Linked DNA regions of Homo sapiens: region 2 is linked to region 1. The links are contacts of gene promoters, found by promoter capture Hi-C in blood cells and fetal thymus (Javierre and others, 2016). All regions are on one chromosome and are shown on one strand. Each heading gives the region's core, a stretch centred on a gene start or on the middle of the fragment in contact. The rest is flanking DNA. Distances are from core to core; before and after follow the strand shown. Region 1 holds the start of PGRMC2 (progesterone receptor membrane component 2). Region 2 holds the start of BBS12 (Bardet-Biedl syndrome 12).

Region 1 (5,682 bases), core at 1,396-3,895:
CACAGTTCTAGTCTCTTCGTGTAGGAATGAAATAGGAAAAGACTGACGGCAAGTCACCAATTGGAAAGTTATTGCAGTACTCAAAGCAAGAGTATCCTATTGGGACAAGAGCTTGTTACTTAGGGTGGAAAATAAGAACTTCCAACTAGTCCAGTTCAAGGGGCTTACAATGAGAATCAAAAAAGCTGGGGTTTTGGGAAGGCTTCAAGTGTGAAGAAGTCGAGACACTATTTTATCAAGGATATAAAGGAAAACTTTTTTACTTCACGTGGCAGCCAATGTTGGTTAGCTACCCAACATTCCCCAGCCCACTTCCTTGACAGCAGAACTTTAATACTGTCCAATTCCTCTCTTCCCTCCAAACCAACTGGAAAAGAAACCTACACACACTAATTCAGCCCCAAGGTAAATCCTGAGGGTCTAAGCTACTGGTTCTCAACCAGTACCACACCTCTGGGGGGTGGGAGGGAAAAACGGTTGATTTACGGTGTCACAATGCCTGAGGTGTGGTACTGACATTTAGCTGGAAGGAACCAGAGATGGTAAATGTCCAGCAATGCTCAACACAGTCCTGAATAAGAATTAAAAAAGCCAGATAAACACTAGGCAATCATGGATGTCCCATGCTCCTTGTCTGTTACTGCTTTAGGGACAGCTAATAGCCCAGTTCTGGTCAATAAGATATAAGGAGTGGCCTGCTTCTGGGGTGCTTTCTTCCTTCCTATCAATGTTGTCTCAACTGTATACAGCTCTTGGGACTGCTACAGCTATCTTCTCCTCAAAACCAGTTTCTTCTTTATCTTCCTATTTCCATCACTGGCACCTCCCATTTTCTGTTACCAAGTCCTAAAGCAATTTTGACTTCTCCTAACCCTTAACCTTAAGGTGACTATTCCTTTAGGTTTGCCTGGGATAAAACTGATATAACTCCTGGTCTCTGGCTATAATTATTAATGCCCTACTTTACTTCCAAAAGTGTTCCATATTGAAGGATAGAGTATATGGTCATTTACTACCAATTGTGTCGCTCTCCCTCAGGTACCTCTAATGCAGGGCTCAGCAATATGGCTTATAAGTTGTTTTTGCACCTCTCCAGAACTAAAAAAAAAAAAATTTACATATTTCAATGATTTTCTTAAAAATCAAAAGAATATTTCATACCTGAAATTATATTAAAAATTCAATGTCCATAGTTTTACTGAAGACAGCTACACTCATTCAAGTATTGTCTATGGCTGCTTTCTCGTTACAAGGTAGAGCTGAGTAGTTAAGGCAGAGACTTAAAATATGATCGGGCCCTTTACAAAAAATGTTTGCCAACCCCTGCTCTAATGTCTCCCCTAGCTCTGAGTCTCCTCACCTCACGCACAAATACCCTAGCCTACTAACTGCTTTCCCACTCTTTCCCCAGCCTCTAATCCTTCAGACACCTGGTTGCTATACAGCCTCTCTACAAGAGTGTCGACCCTGTCACTTGCCTCGTCAATATCCTCAGTGACTCCTACAAAACCGACAGTGAAAGGTTCAAACCTATTCTATGAGACTCAAGACAACAGACAACAAAGGGCAAGAGAGAACACGTCAAACGAGTTCGTCAAACGAGTTGAGTGCGTGAGACTTCAGAGGTCACTTTTTCACACTAGAATTTCAAGGTGTGAGAGGCTAAAAGACGTCCAAGTACATGAAACAGAACCTGCAAATAAGAGTGAATGACGAATAGAAAGACCACCTCAACCTGTCCACTTCCCTACGGCCGCAGAAGTTATGATTCAAGGAATAATGAGACTCTAAATCCTTTAAAATTCTACAAGAGCAGCCTTTGCCAAACCCAGCGGGGAGTGGCTGCTCGGTGCCAGCGCGAGGAGCACGTAGACTGCCGATGCCAGAGAAGCCCGGTGCGGGTTCCGTGCTTTCTCTCCGTTCCAGGAAGACCCCAGCTCGTGGCCAAATCTTCTTGCCGCTTCCCGGTCTGCGCGCCTACGCTGCCGGTTTCCCGACAAAAGCGACGGCGCCCTGGTGAAAAGCAGACGCCCCTCATCGGTTTGCGCCTTGCAGCTCAACTATGCCCCAGCCTCCCACAAGCCACCTGCCCGCGTCCTCCGCCAGGCGTCCAGCCCGGACCTGCCCCCGCGGCCGCCAAGGCGCACGTGAAGCTCCCGGGCGGGGGGAGCGCAAGGAGGCGGGAGTTTGCGGACGCGAACGCAGGCCTAGGAAGGGAAGCGATTCCAGGGCGCACGCGCAGAGCCTGGAGACTGGGCGGGGCGTGCCTCCCGCAGGGGTTACGAACGAAAGGCGAGCGCGTGGCGCTCAGGAGCCCGCGCACGCGCTGTGGTCTCGCCCCGCCCATGAGCGTCCGCGCGGCCGTCGTAGCATCTTTTCTTCAGACCCGCCCGGCTCGTCTACTTAACCTAGCGGAGGCTTGGAGTGAGAGCAGGGAAGTGTGGGGCGAGGTGGGCGGGGCGTTGCACGCGTGCGCGGCCAGCGAAAGAAGGGAGGGGGCGGGAGATCCGAGACAACGTTACCCCGTCAACACCCAATCAGGAGCCGGCCTGACCCCGCCCCCTCTTCTCACGTTATTGGCTGAGAGGCCCCCAGATGGGCGGGGCCGGCCGTGGGGTTGGGGAGGGCAGGGGGCGGGGAGGAGGAGGAAGGCGCTGGCGGGCAGTGATGGCGGCTGGTGATGGGGACGTGAAGCTAGGCACCCTGGGGAGTGGCAGCGAGAGCAGCAACGACGGCGGCAGCGAGAGTCCAGGCGACGCGGGAGCGGCAGCGGAAGGGGGAGGCTGGGCGGCGGCGGCGTTGGCGCTTCTGACGGGGGGCGGGGAAATGCTGCTGAACGTGGCGCTGGTGGCTCTGGTGCTGCTGGGGGCCTACCGGCTGTGGGTGCGCTGGGGGCGGCGGGGTCTGGGGGCCGGGGCCGGGGCGGGCGAGGAGAGCCCCGCCACCTCTCTGCCTCGCATGAAGAAGCGGGACTTCAGCTTGGAGCAGCTGCGCCAGTACGACGGCTCCCGCAACCCGCGCATCCTGCTCGCGGTCAATGGGAAAGTCTTCGACGTGACCAAAGGCAGCAAGTTCTACGGCCCGGGTGAGGAGTTGGAAGGGGAGGGGAAGGACCCCCTGCAGCTGAAGCACAACCCCCTTCGGACAGGGAGGCCTCTGGGCACCGGGTTAGTTTGCCCAGCCTTCTCGTCTCCGGGACCCCCGCGCCTCGGCCGCCGCACCTGGGACGGCCCATCCCGCCCCTACACACACACCGTCCCCCCGCAGCTACGGGCACCTCCAGTTCTTCCCCCGAAACCAGGGTCCCCGGTGGCGCCCCAGAGACCAGCTCTCAGCATTCATCTTTCTTCCATCCCATTTCTCCTCGCAGCCTTTTTTTTTTGTTTCTTTGGCTGGATTTTTCAAAATCGTTTTAGTTGTCACAGGTCAACGCTGGCCCTTAACCTTTTTTGAGTCTCCTGATTCCTGGGATGGATGGGGCACCAGGGAAGGGAGATTTCTGAAGTTGGGACCTAAACTAAAGTTTTGGGCTCTGTAATTCACCGTTTTCTTTTCCTTGCCCCCTTTTTTTTTTTTTTTGCCACTGATCTCCTTTTTTCCCTCGCTGTATTACTCCGTAAGGCCACGTTTAGGGGCATGTAAAGTCCCAACCCTCCAGTCTCTGAAGTCCAGACGTATAAGCAACACCTCGGACTCTCTTTAAACCAGTTTTAGTTCGGAGTTGCTTTCCATGATTAACAAGGTATGTGGGATGAGAACAGACCAGAATGCAGAGCTTATTAAAGACTGGTAAGGATATTCACCTTGAGTTTTGGGGGTGGAGCTCCTATACCCAGCAGGCGTGTCTCTGGTTTCTTTTTTCTTTTTTTTTCTCTTTTCAAGTACACGTTGATAATGACTTGTGTTTTCACTTAGCAGAACTAAGGAGAAAAAACTTAGAAGAGTTGTAGATTTATACCCCCATGTGCCAGTTATGCAAGTTAAAGATTTTTAGAACTTTGTTTTGAGAGAACTTTGTTTTCAGGGAACTTTGTGTAGGGTAGTTGATTTAGACGCCCTTTTTTTACAGTGTGGTTGTAGCATACATTTTGGATTATGTTAATAAACCCCAGACTCATGGAACCTGTTGGTATATCATACAGTTGAGCAACATTGTGCATCCTGGTTGTGCACTGATTAATACTAAGCTTTAAAAAAAAGTGGTGACTACAATAAGAATAAATAATTAAATTAGAGACCTAAAGTGACCTGTTATTGGAGAGAGTACCTCCAAGCCTTAAAGTCATAGGGTTGGCAGTCTGGAAGTAAGCTGGTTTTCTCCTTAATTTAATCTGTAGGTGTATAAGATTTATTGACACTTAAAAATATATACTTCTGATTTCAGTGCTTGATAGCTGGAAGATATTTTAGAAGTGCTTTGGTTTGTAGTTTGTTCATTGGAATAGGGATAAGAAATAGGAGATTTTTGGTGTTGAATTATGTAATTTATTTCTTAGTTGTTTGTACTTCTGTGTATATATACACATTTAATCCAACCAAGTAAATACATAGCTTACAGAGTTTTTGCTTCTGGTTACATAAATGTGAACACAAGGTGTCTGCCTACTTATATCAACTGAAATGGTTAATACATTTTTGTTTACTTAAGCACACGTGGGACAAGAGAACAGGGCCAAAGTACAGTATTTAAACAGGCCAAGCGAAGTAAATTTTTTTTAAATCAAGGATTTAGACAGCATTTTATACCTAGTTCAAGCTTTTCCCCCATTGGTATTAAAATGTGTTAAGTGATTAGAAATCCTGTACAGGTTTAAATTTTTAATATAGACCTTACCCAGCTAAAAGATCAGCTTTTGTACCCTGTCTGAACTGCCACTGAAGAAAACAAAGTATTAGTACAAAGAATCGTATTAGTCCTCACACATTATGCCTTGGCAGTATCTGAAAATAGCTAAGAGAGACAGTCATAGAAACAGTTTGGCAGCCTCCAGTGGCAAACGTTTGTTCTGTGATAGAAATTAAAAATTAAAGCCAGGCGTGGTGGTTCATGCCTGTAATCCCAGTGCTTTGGGAGGCCGAGGCGGGTGGATCACCAGAGGTCAGGAGTTCGAAACCAGCCTGGCCAATATAACAAAACCTCGTCTCTACTAAAAATACAAGAAAATCAGCTAGACGTGGTGGCGGGTGCCTGTAATCCCAGCTACTCGGGAGGCGGAGGCAGGGAGAGTTGCTGGAACCCGGGAGGTGGGGGTTGCAGTGAGCCGAGATTGCGCCATTGCACTCCAGCCTGGGCGACAGAGAGAGACTCGGTATAAAAAAAAATTAAAAATTAAGAGTCATAGGTGGTAGATTGCTTTTTTATGGTATGTGCACTGAGGGAGGCTCTTGAGATTACAATGGAGAAGTCAGTTTTAGATTAGTTTCTGCCAGTTCCTAGGTTCTGTTGAACAGCCTAAGAGTGATATACAGTTAGTATTCTACAGTTGATCAACAACATAACAGATATTTGAATATTTTATTATTGAAAGGAACCTTAAAGAAAGCCAGATCATTTTATGGGCTTAGAATATGTTGATATTGCATATTAATAGAAAATGTAATAAGTAGTACTTTTCAAAAAATCTTAAAGCCAAATTTCTGGCTATAAAACAGATACAAGTTCAGTTTTGCTTTTAATTTTTA
Region 2 (6,146 bases), core at 1,895-4,394, 5.6 Mb after region 1:
ACCCAGTAGTTGGCATAGTGCATGACATATAGAAAACATTAAATACATTTGGGAGATTTAAGAGTGCCTATGTGTTTAATGTTTTCCTGGATAATGATGATGATTAATGTTCTAAAGTGCAGTTAGATTCGTTAATAGCTAGTTTTCAAAACTAATTACATCCTATTCAAGATCTGGGAGTTGGAATCTGAGCCTACAATTAAAAAAACATTTTAACTAGCAGTAAATATTCCAAATATAAAAGCCTAAATCATAGTGATATAAAAATAGGTTAATATACTACTCCGCCATTTAATTGTCATTAGATCAAACATGATCCAAGAGATCCTCGAAATTAGGATTGGGTTGAGTATATACTTGGTCACTATTCATTTCTGGGTCTAAGAAATCCTTTTAATATTAGTATTAAAAATGAAGTATATGGCCGGGCGCAGTTGCTCACGCCTGTAATCCCAGCACTTTGAGAGGCCGAGGCGAGCGGATCATGAAGTCAGGAGATGGAGACCATCCTGGCTAATACGGTGAAACTCCGTCTCTACTAAAAATACAAAAAAATTAGCCGGGCGCGGTGGCGGGCGCCTGTACTCCCAGCTATTCGGGAGGCTGAGGCAGAAGAACGGCGAGAACCCGGGAGGTGGAGCTTGCAGTGAGCCGGGATTGAGCCACTGCACTCCAGCCTGGGCGACAGAGCAGGACTCGGTCTCAAAAAAAAAAAAGTGTATGACCTTGAAACTGATCAAGAGCAACTTTCCAAGTGAGATAAATGACGTGAAAAATCATATATTAAAGTGACCACATTTTACTTAACTCAAAAATTATCTTGGATTTGTGCCATTTTAATTTTCACTGGGTAACTTTATATGGAAAAATCACCTGCAATATGAGGATAAACTTACCTATTTTCCAGAAGCCTAATGAGATTTTTATCAATGATTACAATACTTGCGTGTCTGTCTGGGATATAATATGAACAAGACAGGCTGATGGCTTTGGAAAATGTGCCATGTTTCTACTCAATGAAGCATGAAAAGTGATTTGACAGAGTGCTTCAAGAATGCACTTTGCACTTGTTTTCCTCTCCTGCCTTCAGGAAGATAAGTGAGACAAAAAAAAAAAAAAAAAAAAAAAGACTAAAGTTAGTATTCTTCCTGAATCCATTTTTGAAGAATCCAGTATAATTTTTAGAAAATATTTCCTCTAGAGAAGACATTGTAGGAGGCATAAAAGGGGTCCGCATGTGTGAGCAATTAAAGGTTAGAAGTTTTAAGATTCTCTCATTCCTTCATTCCCACCAGGAAGTCAGTGGTCCATCCTACCTCAGTCTTTCTCCCCTGTCCTTTAAGCTGATTCCTGGCCAAATTCAGAACGGGCAGAAGCAGTAAATCTGGCCCTCTGGACAAGAGATTGAGTTGGTTTACAAAAGTTTCACAAGTATCTAAATCTAGGCCGTTACTGAATCAACTGGATAATCAGACTACCTGTGTCTGACTCTGAAGTGCAGATCAAGTTGATATCGTTGACAACTGGCCAAATCTTAGGACTGGGCCAAGGAAATGGCTGGATGTGTGTGTGTGTGTGTGTGTGTGTGTGTGTGTGTGTGTGTGTGTGTGTTGGGGTTGGAGGGCGGGGTCCGATAGTAATTATGGGTGGGGCCAAAGTCCTACCTCGTAAACAAATGCTACACGAAACATGTAAAAACGTTTATCTATGTATGTAGTGAAGCTTTAAATACATCCCAAGACCCATGCTTATCCCAATACCCACGTCCCTCCAACGACACTGTTACCCCATGCCACTGCTATACAGAATTCTGGTGTCTACCATGCCAGAATCCCTGCCCAAAACAGGGAGGAGGTAAATGGCTGAAGGCCCAGCTCCAGGCACTGTAGAAAATGAGGAAAGTCTAGCGGCAAAAAGAAAGGGCAGTCCCCTCTTCCTCTAGTACTCCTAGCCACATGCTGGACCAATTCACCCCAGGACCTCCAGGCCCTAGATTCTCATTCTTTCCCTGGCCCGAAGAGGACAGAAAAATCAAACACACGGGCTCCCACGTCTTCAGGAAAGACTTAGCTTAGCAGTCAGCGGAAGCACCTCACTACTAACCTCGCTCCTTTCTCCTCTCCTACAGGGGGCTGGAGTTCCCGGCTTCCCACCGGCCAGACGCGATTCTGGCTGGGACAGCAACACCAAAAACGCCAGGGCTAGGGAGCCCAGTTCCCCGTCCGCAGTTTGCGCATGTGCGAAGAGGGGCTTCTGGAGGAGCCGGGGGCTTAGTTGCTAAGAGACACAGCTGGAGAGAGAAGTTCCGCTTAACGCCGGGCTGCGAAAGGCGGGGACGTCACGCTATTGGTAGGGAGTAGAGAGAAAGGGCTGGTTTAAAGGCCTTTTTTTCTGTCCATTGGATGAACTGGATGTCAATAACTCAGGCTGGGTGGGCGGGGCTGAGAGAGGTCGGTGAGAGCGGCCTTAGCAACCGCCAGTGAGCTGTGAAGACTTGGGTTGGGCGGGGCTGCGGGAGGTGACGCCGGGAGGTCCCGGCTGAGAGCGCCGGCTGCCGGCTGGGGACCTGGTGAGTGTGAAGCTGTAACCTTCTGCTGGGGCCGGGGCCGAAGTTTTTCCGCCAGAGCAAGGAAGGCTGCCCCTGGCAGCAACTGCACTCCTTCCTTACTCCTGTTGAGATTCATTTTATAGTAGGAAATAGGTACTTTAATATAGTTTATCATCAATTATTCTGGTTCTGCTAACTATTCCAGTTATATAATTTATCTTTCACCCATATGTGTGTGTATTACAGGCATCTAACTACCATACAAGTTCAGACCAATGGAAGAAAAGAGCAGCAAAAATTGAACTGAATGAATCCCAAAAGCAAGAAATTAAAGACGCCTTTAATTTATTTGATATTGATGGGTCTGGAACCATCGATGTAAAAGAAGGTTCTGAAATTATTTCTAATTCTAAATCATTTTAAAAACCATATTATTTGTGGCAATCTTTAAGGCTTTCTTTAAAAGTAGTCTTCTGAAAGCTTAATATAAAGTCTCTTCAGTGCATATGCCTGCCCTGCATTAGCAAAACGATATCTTGTTAAGCATTTTAATTGTGTTTTATAAATGAGTAGGCAAAAGCCCAGGGTGTAACAGTGATGTACATGATGGCACAGTAGGACTGAAACACAGGCCTGCTGACCTAATTTTCTGTTTATGCTCAGTCCATAATAGAAAAGAGAGAAGCTCTTAATAGGGAGTTAAAAAGCTTAGAAAGAAATCATGGCATATTATAATTCCTTTTCTTCCTATTTCAGATTGCAGTGTGGGCCTTAGGATTTGAACCAAAGAAAGAAGAAATTTAAAAAATGGTAGCTGAAGTTGATAAAGAAGGAATTGGCACCATTAGTTTTGAAGATTTTTTTTTGCCATTATGAGTATAAAAATGATATAGTTATGATTTTATTTTTCAAAGAAATACTAGCAATAACCTGCTACATTTTAGGGCTGGAGCAATCAGAAGTTTTATAGAGAAGCAATTAGAACTAGGTTTTTAAGGATGGGAGATAGGAAGAGCAAGATTAAATATGTTTTCAGGGTAGTAATGAGAAGACTATGATGTGGAGAAGAGGTTTTTGTCAGGAAATAATGAGGCTATATTGCAGGATAGAGAGAATGGGGCCAGAATTTGGAAGCCTTTAATTCAGCAACATATATTGAATGCCTATTTTTGCCAGGCACTATTCTAAGGAGCATTGAAAGATACAACCTTCCATTTTGAAGCTTACATTTTTGGTAACGGATCTGAATTATGAGGTTTAATAAGAGATGCATTCTGGACCACCCTGTGCCTTCTCCACCTTAGCAAGCTCTACCTTTAAGCACCTTGAGGGCAGGTGTGAGTACATAATTGTTAAAAGACCAATAAATAAAATCAGAACACAGCTACTTGGCACATTGCTGCTTTAGACCCCAAAGATCTAATTAAGTCCAGCTTGATAAAATAAATAAATGAAAGACTGGATAGTTGCTTCTTTTTTAAAAGAGTAAAAAAGATGAAAAAGAAGAAATATTGAAGACTTTCAAATTATTTGATGATGATGATACTGGAAGTATAATACTAACCGGTATCAAGAGGTTTGCTAAGAAACCAGGGGAAAATTTAACATGATGAACTTCAGGTAGATTTTGCTTATTTTTATAATTATAATTTATATGTAATTATAACTTATGTGATAATTTAGGATTATAATTCTAACTTTAGTTGCACTTATGCATTTAAAATAAAATTTGGTTTTGAATATGTGTTTGACTTCATTTATGTCATTTTAAATGTATTTCATATATTTACATTTTGTTTTACAGGAAATGCTTGATGAAGCTGATCATGATAGAGATGGAGAAATAAACGAGGAAGATGTTTTGAGAGTGATGAAAAAGACTACTCGTTATTAATAGCGTTGTTTTAGTCCTTGTGGAAAATTAACAAATTTGTATTTGTTATGCAGTTTTATAATTTAATATCTGAATGTATTCATTTTCAGTTTTTAGTTTATATGTACACATTGGCTTCTTGATGTCTAATCCATGTAAGAAGTTACACATCTCTACCAATATGATGTTAAATCTACAGCATCAAGAAACAAAACATAATGACTTCTTTGAGCCATTAATCCAAGAACAGTATTGATTCTAGCTGCTCTTTTGAGAACCTTAGGTCACAAAGACTTAGAATTTTAAAGTTTGATGAAGTTGGCTTCACATCCAAATGAATTTGGCAAACAAAACTTATATTTTCCTTTTGTGCAACCCAAAAAAACCTGATGAACATTTGCTTTTTAGTCAGTTACTCAAATACATAAAGTATTAAATAGAACTGTCTGGAAACATTATTTGCTAATTTTCTTCTTTTAGTTATAAAGAAAATTCAAAATAGCACTTACATCACCCATATTTCCCTGTAAGTTTGACTCTATAGTGAGCACTTAATACCTCTGTGCTAGGACAGGTGGTGTAGAGTTTTATTTTTAAAAAATTTTATTTATATATTTTTTGAGACAAAATCTCCCTCTGTCACCCAGGCTGGAGTGCAGTGGTGCGATCTCGGCTCAATGCAACCTCTGCCTCCTGGGCTCAAGAGATTCTCCTGCCTCAGCCTCCCGAGTAGCTGGGACTACAGGTACCTGCCACCATGCCTAGCTAATTTTTTGCATTTTTAGTAGAGACGGAGTTTCACTGTGTTAGCCATGATGGTCTCAATCTCCTGACCTCATGATCTGCCTACCTCAGCCTCCCAAACTGCTGGGATTACAGGGGTGAGCCACCGTGCCTGGCCGAGATTTTATGTGTTAACCTCAGTAAACATATTACAAGTTGGAAGCTGATTGTATTAGCTCCATTTTACATACAAGAAAACTAAAGTTCAGAGAAGTTTTAAAAATTCCCCAGTTGCCCATTGATAAGAAATAAAACATGGATTCCAAATCTTAAGTTCTTATTCTTCATTATGCTGCTTCCCTATGGATAAAACTTTCAAGATAACTGTGTATTTTCTAACTCATTTTCAATTCTGTGACTCTTGTGATTTCTTCCTTGTGAAAGAGCCAAACTGTTGGGAAACGGAATCTCATACATACAGTCTTTTAACTCCTACTCAGTTGTTTGAGAGTGGGCCTTGGGCCTGGAACACTTCTTTTGAAGAGACTAGGAGTCCACAGAGCCTGTGCTGAACTTACCACCCCGTATAGTAATATCTTCCTCTGTTTCAGAGTCAATGTGTAGTCCTTTGCCCTGCTTAAGTGTGTGCATCATATGGCATCTGACCAACCCCACTGCTCTGTCTCCTGTGGGGGAGGGGATGGGGGTCCTTCAGCACAAGAGGAGTGTTTGCAGGCCACCTGCCCTGTGTCAGCTGCCAAGAGGGACCCTCTGGTCATGGGAGACTGAAGTCCACTAGGGAAGCTGATCTTGCTCTGTCTCTTCTGTATGTGAGTAATGTGTGTTCCACCCAGTGTTTCACTGCATTGTTTTCCTTGGCGACTTTGAAACAAGATGCAGTGGACAGAAGTGCTCAGACTTCTGCTCCTGACAAATAGGCAACAGATGCCACTTGCTCCACACAAACACTTTCTGATAACCAAGTTGTCTTTGGAGCAAGAA

The links. The method cuts DNA at HindIII sites, captures the fragments that hold promoters and counts their contacts. A CHiCAGO score of 5 or more calls a contact.
Region 2: a contact is called between a fragment that was not itself captured here and the fragment with the promoter of PGRMC2 in region 1, in 1 of 17 cell types (total B cells). The highest score is 7.7, in total B cells.

Annotation. Positions count from the first base shown.
Region 1 is chr4:128,284,776-128,290,457 of GRCh38, reverse strand. PGRMC2 (progesterone receptor membrane component 2) reads left to right here and starts at 2,645. Exons shown (of 3, transcript NM_006320.6): 1 at 2,645-3,085. The coding sequence starts at 2,668. RefSeq lists silencers at 1,350-1,644, 2,016-2,205, 2,526-2,705, 2,716-2,765, 2,946-3,005. The HindIII fragment of the contact is 4,970 bases long and covers 1-4,189 here.
Region 2 is chr4:122,728,842-122,734,987 of GRCh38, reverse strand. It overlaps BBS12 (Bardet-Biedl syndrome 12), which reads right to left and starts at 2,284. Exons shown (of 2, transcript NM_152618.3): 1 at 2,104-2,284. It also overlaps the pseudogene CETN4P. RefSeq lists an enhancer at 1,825-2,034 and a silencer at 2,395-2,614. The HindIII fragment of the contact is 227 bases long and covers 3,031-3,257 here.